2 separate regions of the Homo sapiens genome follow, and region 1 is linked to region 2. Evidence: promoter capture Hi-C in 16 types of primary human blood cells and fetal thymus (Javierre and others, 2016). All regions are on one chromosome and are shown on one strand. Each heading gives the region's core, a stretch centred on a gene start or on the middle of the fragment in contact. The rest is flanking DNA. Distances are from core to core; before and after follow the strand shown. Region 1 holds the start of NCKAP1L (NCK associated protein 1 like). Region 2 holds the start of NFE2 (nuclear factor, erythroid 2).

What was found. Contacts are between HindIII fragments. The CHiCAGO score rates a contact against its expected background, and 5 or more counts as called.
Region 1: the fragment with the promoter of NCKAP1L here is called in contact with the fragment with the promoter of NFE2 in region 2 in 9 of 17 cell types (neutrophils, total CD4 T cells, total CD8 T cells and 6 more); the score reaches 10.6 in neutrophils.

The regions. Positions count from the first base shown.
Region 1 is chr12:54,495,560-54,499,216 of GRCh38, reverse strand. It overlaps NCKAP1L (NCK associated protein 1 like), which reads right to left and starts at 1,465. Exons shown (of 31, transcript NM_005337.5): 1 at 1,326-1,465. The coding sequence starts at 1,427. RefSeq lists enhancers at 1,274-1,333, 1,444-1,503. The HindIII fragment of the contact is 9,210 bases long and covers 1-3,657 here.
Region 2 is chr12:54,299,597-54,303,288 of GRCh38, reverse strand. NFE2 (nuclear factor, erythroid 2) reads left to right here and starts at 2,274. Exons shown (of 3, transcript NM_001136023.3): 1 at 2,274-2,488. RefSeq lists an enhancer at 1,387-2,127 and a cis regulatory region at 1,528-2,502. The HindIII fragment of the contact is 10,882 bases long and covers 1-3,692 here.

The DNA of each region.
Region 1 (3,657 bases), core at 216-2,715, 200 kb before region 2:
CGCAGCGGCTCACACCTGTAATCCCAGCACTTCGGGAGGCCGAGGCAGGCAGATCACAAGGTCAGAAGTTCGAGACCAGCCTGGCCAACATGGTGAAACCCCGTCTCTACTAAAAATACAAAAATTAGCTGGGCATGGTGGTGCACAACTGTAGTCCCAGGTACTTGGGAGGCTGAGGCAGGAGAATCGCTTGAACCCGGGAGGCGGAGGTTGCAGTGAGCCAAGATCGTGCCACTGCACTCCAGCCTGGGCGACAGAGCGAGACTCCGAAAATAAATAAATAAATAAATAAATAAATAAATATAAAAATAAAAAGCATAAGAGTAGGTCAAGAAAAAATTCCAAGACATTAAGCCAAGTATCTAAGAGCGAAATAACAACCTAGGCATTTTGTCTTGATGGGTAGAGTTTAATGCCTGCTTGGCCCCAGCACAAAGAGGAAGCTGTTTCCCCGCCCCTCAACTGAAGCCGGAAGGAACAAGAAAAGCAGCTGCTCAGGAGTTAGACTTTGTACAAGATTCAGTGTCACAATTTTGTTCACTATGTAAGTATCTTATCCCAAAGGGCATTTACAGGATTCATGGTGACAGAGAAACCGTGTTCCTGGTGATTTGTTTTATTACAAAAAACACAAAAGCTCCCTCCCCCAAAGTCCCCTATTTTCTATGCCAGGAACTCCCCATAAACACCCCTGTCTTTATCTCTTTACTTCCTATGGTTTGCCCAGCCCCTAGCCCACCTCTTGTCACTAGCTTCTTTCAATTCCTCAGTTCCTATTCTAAACACACACACACACACACACACACACACACACACAACCACCACAGCATGAACTACCCCAGGAGCAGCTCAGAAGACACCTACCCTTTTTAATCTAAATACCTAATTATCTATTTTTTTTCCTTTTAGGGAAGCACTTCCACAGAAAAGTTTTTGCCAGAGACCCAGCTTCAGATCTCTTCAGAGTGTAGAGGATCAACAATAAATAATAAAACCCAGAAGGTTGGACCCCAGACCTTTATCCAAGTCACTTGGAATACCACTGTTGTTTCCCCATCCCCACCCTCACCCCCATCCCCAGAGGAAAGCAGATGCCATCGTTGGGGCAAGAATCATATCTAGAAAGGGGAAGCCTTGAAAAGAAGCCTCCACTTCTGCCTTCCTGAACTGGCTGGCCTGTATAATCTGAGTGATTATGTAGATTATAGTCAGTGGAAAAGCAGTGGAAAAAAAGGTGGGAGTCTAACTGCTGCACCTGCCGCCTCAGGGTTCCCTGCCCTATTATTGTTGGAATAATCAGTACTAGTCCCATTGTTCATGCTTACCTTCTTGATGTTATACATACGGATGAGAACCCCCTGACCGCGATCATTCAGGATAGTGAGCTTCTCTGCTAATTTATGCTGGTAAGCAGATGTCAAAGACATGATGGCCACTGAGAGAGGAGCACCAGACAGCAATGTCTGATCTCCCCAAACACTTTCAGCTTAGATGGTGACACCCTCTGGCGGAGGGACCCAGCCTGGTTGGTGCACTGGTCTTCTGTTGCCTCTGCAATTGGCTCATGGGTGAAATCAGTCATTATGGCTCACAGGCCCTCAGAGCCTTCTTGTGCTTCCTCTTGCACACTCAGCAGGGGAGACTTCCTCTTTCTGGCTGTGCAGCACTTTTGGTAAGGCTATGAAGTGGGTGGAGCTGAGGAGAAGGACAGGCTTTCAAGGCTCTTCACAGACTGCACCAACCTTTTTGGTCTTATGCCCCCATAAGTGTCCTAGACAAAGCTGGGCGTGGTGGCTCACACCTGTAATCCCAGCACTTTGGGAGGAAAAGGTGGGAAGATCCATTGAGCTCAGGAGTTCCAGACCAGCCTGGGCAACATAGCAAGACCCCATCTCTATAAAAAATAAAAATTAAAAGCTGTAAGCTAGATAAACAAGTATCTACCACCCCACCCCTGTACACCTCTATATTTTCCTTCTTTTATATCCAAGAATGCCTATGAACCTTTGGCCTCATCATGTTTTAGTACCCAGATCAAATCCCATCTTCTCCTAAAGACCCCATCAATGTCAAATATTATATTGTATTATATTTTATATTGTCAAATACATATATTCCTTGTTATATGTTTATAGTGTACGTTGTATCTCCCCCAACTACAGCATAAGCTCCTTAATGACAGGAATTGTACCTAATACTTTTTTTTCTTTTTTTTTTTTTTTTTGAAACAGAGTTCCACTCTTGTTGCCCAGGCTGGAGTGCAATGGCATGATCTCTGCTCACTACAACCTCCACCTCCTGGGCTCAAGCAATTCTCCAGCCTCAGCCTCTGGAGTAGCTGTGGTTACAGGTGCCCACCACCACGCCTTGCTAATTTTTGTATTTTTAGTAGACATGGGGTTTCACCGTGTTGGCCAGGCTGCTCTCGAACTCCTGACCTCAGGTGATTTACCCGCCACAGCCTCCCAAAGTACTGGAATTACAGGCATGAGCCACCACACCCGGCCTCTAATACTTTTTTATATTTCTCACAATGCTCTACTACAGTGCATTGTACTTCTACAGTACATAATAATTCTCAAAGTAGTTCTCAAGAAGTACATAGTAATTCTCAAAATGTGATCCAGCAGCATCAGCATCACCTGGAAACTTGTTAGAGATGCAAATTCTTAGGACCCGCCCCAGACCACTGAATCCAAAATTCTGGGGTGGGTCCAGGCACTCTGTGTTTTAACAAACCCTCCAGGTGATTCCAATGCACACTCAAGTTTGAGAACCAGTGCTCTAGTACCATGGTATTTATGGATGCTTGAGAAACAGATCAATCCCTGTCCTCTGAGATTAGCATTGGTAGGTAGGCGAGTCTGTTGTGGGGCCTAGAAGTCTGTACTTATATAAGCACTGTTGTAGGAGGTTTTGGTACAAATATTCCATTCTGAAAAACACTGATCTAGAACAATACCTCTTGGACACAGTAGTCACTCAATAAATATGCTGGTTTATTTGTTGAATTATTAAGACTAAATTAGGAAATAGGCCCCATGAAGAAGAACCAAATTAATCAAGATTAAAAAGAGGAAATTAGTAATCACCCTTAAATCTTAGAGACTTGAATGAATTTTAGCATTAAAATATTCTTGCCATTCCAATGAGGCCTTAACTCCGTAACTCAAGAAAATTTTCAACTCTATTTCAACTTTCTTTCAAGACACAAAGCAAAAGGTCCTAGGAAAAATTATAAATCAAAAAGAGTTCTCTTCATTTCCACCACCTTGCCAATTCCTTTTCTCAGGTTTTTAATCATTCCCATTTTCCGTATCCAGAGTTCCCATTGTCCCAATAAATTCTAGGGAGTGGGAGAAGAGAGACAAGGCTGATCAGCATTATTACTTAAGAAGTTGGGGCCAGGTGAAGTGGCTCATGCTTATAATCCCAGCACTTTGGGAGGCAAAGGTAGAAGGATTGCTTGAAGCCAGGAGTTCAAGACCAGCCTAGGCAACATTGTGAGACCTTCCCCCACCCCTCTACAGATAAAATAAAATAAATTAGCCTGGTGTGGTGGTACATGGCTGTAGGCCCAGCTCCTCAGGAGGCTGAGGTGGGATGGTCGCTTGAGCCCAGGAGTTCAACACCGCACTCCAGCCTGGTCGATAGAGC
Region 2 (3,692 bases), core at 1,025-3,524:
CCACCTCCTGGGTTCAAGTGATTCTCCTGCCTCAGCCTCCTGAGTAGCTGGAATTACAGGCACATGCCACCACGCCTGGCTAATTTTTGTATTTTTAGTAGAGAAGGGGTTTCACCATGTTGGTCAGACTGGTCTCGAACGCCCGACCTCAGGTGATCTGCCAGCCTCAGCCTCCCAAAGTGTTGGGATTACAGGCATGAGCCACCGTGCCTGGCCTATTTTATTTTATTTTATTATATACACCTTATTAATGTAATTCCCTGACTAGACTTGACTGAAGATACAGACTGTCTTGCTCATCTTTGTGTTCCTGGGATGTAAAACATAGTAGACACTCAATAAATATTTGTTGAATGAATGAATGATGAGCCTTGTGTTACCCATAATTGTCTATGCAACACCAGTATCCTGAACTGATAATTCTTATTCAATAAATGTTTGTTGACTATCTATAACCTGATATCATTATATAGTCAGCCACAAGTGTGACTGTTACCATTCTTCATCCCCTCTGAGTGGCCCAAATAAATATGCAAATGAGAGAATTATATCTGAGAGCCTACATATGTGACCCAGATTCATGCCCAAGTCTGAAGAGATTCTGAACCCACATGTAACATGTAATGAAGGCATTGGATTGCCTCCTGTCTTACCTTGATCATGCATGTGCAGTCATGATCTACTGGAAAAGGGATGGAATTCAAAGCATTTAACCATAGGTTTGGCATGGGCATTGGCCAATTCCAGCAGAAGCAGGCAGCACAGGAGGCTCCTTATGGTACCAGCATTGCCTCTTTACTTCCATGGTTGTGTTGCTGGGTTGTTGGGGATCTTAGAGGAGAACTAGGCTATTGGTGGAGTCGTGGGGGACACTTAGAGGGCTCACAGCAGCTGCCTTTTATCAACTAGGACTGAACATTTTCATTATTTTAACAGCAAATACAATCCCATCAGAGCATGCTGGTTGAATGCCAGTCCTACTCCAGAGTGGCACCTATCTGCTTCCCCAGTCTTCAGATGTTTCTAATTTAACTTGAACATTGTAAGAAGAAAAAATGTAAGCTGCAGATGTCAGGATTGAAGCTAGACATATAGAGCTGAAAGCCATTACAAATTAGGAGGAAGAAAGGCTCTTTTCTCACAGTCTGTGGAGAAAGATGTTTGACCTGGGGCTTTGGTGGTGTAGCTTGCAGGCAAAAAGATGAATAAGTGGGCTGGGTGAGGTGGCTCATGCCTGTAATCCCAGCACTTTGGGAGGCCAAGAGGGGAGGATTGCTTGAGCCCAAGAATTCAATACCAGCCAAGGCAATATAGTGAGACACCACTTCTACCAAAAAAAAAAAAAAAAAAAAAAATTAGCTGGGCATGGTTGCACTGACCCATAGAACCAGCTACTTGGGAGGCTGAGGTGGGAGGATTGCTTAAGCCTGGGAGTTTGAGACTGTAGTGAAACATGTTCACACCACTGCACTCCAGCCTGGGAGACAGAGTGAGCCCCTCTCTGGAAAAAAAAAAAAAAAAAGATGAATAAGGGTACTTACTGGCCTAACAGAGTTGGGTGCCATGTGGCTGGGGTGCTTTGCCTGGGAGAAAGGAGGACAAAGGACACCTGGGGTCCCCTTTACGGGAGGTGAATAATCTCCCTGCTGGGTGGCCCCCCACCTAACTCCCTTCACACACTGACAAAAACCTGGCCAAGAAAGAATCCTTTGTCCTGGGACTTCTGAGGCTGAGGGGGGAGGGGAGAAGGCTACAGGTGAAAGGACACATCAAAGCAGTCAGTTGCCCCTCCTCCTCCAAATAGTTCCCCTGCCCTTGTTCCCAGAGCCCAGGTTTTCTGTAAATGAAGGCTATACCCTAAACGTCCAACTGCCTAGACAGCTGGGAAGCTAGACACCTGGTCCTTACCTTCAGCTGCCTTCCACCTTGATATGACTCAGTTTCCCTGTCCCTAGGAGAGCCGTGGGGACACAAGGCGACGACAACCTGTATAAAGTTTAAAGGTCACATTCGAGTGGACCATCAGGTTGGAATTCGTCAAATGCATGGGAGAAACGCAGACCTGGCTGGACTCCTGGGCTGAAAAGGAGGGCTGGGAGAGGCTTGGAGCCATGTGTGCCCCCGCTGGCCAGGAGCAAGGTGGGGGCGGGGTGTGGGCAGAAACCACATCGGGCTCAAGTTTCCTCTCTTGGCCGAAAGGGGCAGGAGGAGAGGAGAGCCACGGGGAAAGGGGAGGGTTGGAGGAAGGACTGAGAACTCAGGCCGAGGGCTTCAGACGCTGGTGCGCCTGCTTGGGGCTCCTGTGCTCAGCTCAGCCTGAGCTTCCACACTCAGCGCTCAGCAATGGCCCGGGGGCGGGGCGCGGTCCTCGCAGATTCTCAAAGGTAGCCGGGATCCTCGTCCAGCAGTGTCAGCTCAGGCTCAGCCTCCCCAGAGACAACACCGGGAGCCTCATCTCTCTCCTCACCCTGCTGTGACTCCACCACAGGTGCCTGAAAGGCAGGGTGTGTGTGGGGGGGGCGGATTCCAGTGAGATCCGAGGGGCAGGCTGGGGGGTGAAGGAGGTGAGGGGGGAAAATAACCAACTTTCGGTATCCTAGGAGACCTCAGACTTTCTAGATTGCCCCTGGTTTAGGAATCTGACATATTTGGGAACTCCTCTAGGAGAAGACCTAAGTGGTTTCTTGGGTGCTCTGGGATCCTTGGGGTGGAGGCTGTGAATGGGGATCAGAGAGGGGTCTCCAGAGGCAAGGCACCGCTGAGGGGCTGGGGAGTAGCCAGGAGGAATCCTTCAACTGGTGGGCTACCCTGAGGGAACCAATAGACTACCCTTTCCCCAACTCCATTCCATTACTCTGCCCTGTCTAGGCAGCTGAGAAGGTTTAGGGAAAGCTGAGGAATTGGAAACACTGGATATCTGAACCTCTGAGAAGTGTTGCAAGGTGCGGGGGTTGGATGGGAGATTGCCTCTGGGTTGTTGGCTCCTTTGCCCTTTCTCTTCTCTGTGCCCAGGGGCAGTAGAGATCAGCTGGACCTGGAGGGAGAAGGAAGACATCCCAACCCCAGCATAGTTGCTTCTAACTGGAACTCTTGGCTGCTTGGGAAATAGGGGCTTGGGAAGCAGTGGAAGAGAAGAGAGGAGGTATCAGAACTGCTGGGGCTGGGATCCCCTAGACATCGGTACCAAAGGACTGGAGTTTGGGGTCCAGGGATGAAGTGACACAATAGCAGAAACTCGTCCCCCTCTTCTTTGTTCTCACACATTTGTTTGAGTCATGCATGTCCCTAGGGCACTGAGCTCACTATGCTTAAATCTCTCTCCCTCCTTTTTTTCCCCTTCATTCTGTCTCATCTCTGTGTGTCTCTCTCTCTTCGGGAGTTCTCCCTAATCTTTCTAAATAGGTTGCTTACCGGTTAACCAATACCCCAAGTTTTACTAATCCCTCCTCATCCTTTCACTGCACCTATTGACACCTGGAGAGGTGAGGTGGTCAAATAAGCCTCAGAAAAGGGATCCTGAGGCAAGCCCCCTCTCATCGTTCCCCCTCGTTAAGGAAGTTAAGAGCCCTGGGGCAGCAGCTAAGGCCAAATGTATTCCTCTCTCCATCATCCCTCTCCGAATAGTCCTCACTCTGTATTCCTAATCATGAAGCTCCGTATCATTCTGTGAGTACTTAGGGATTATGATAAAA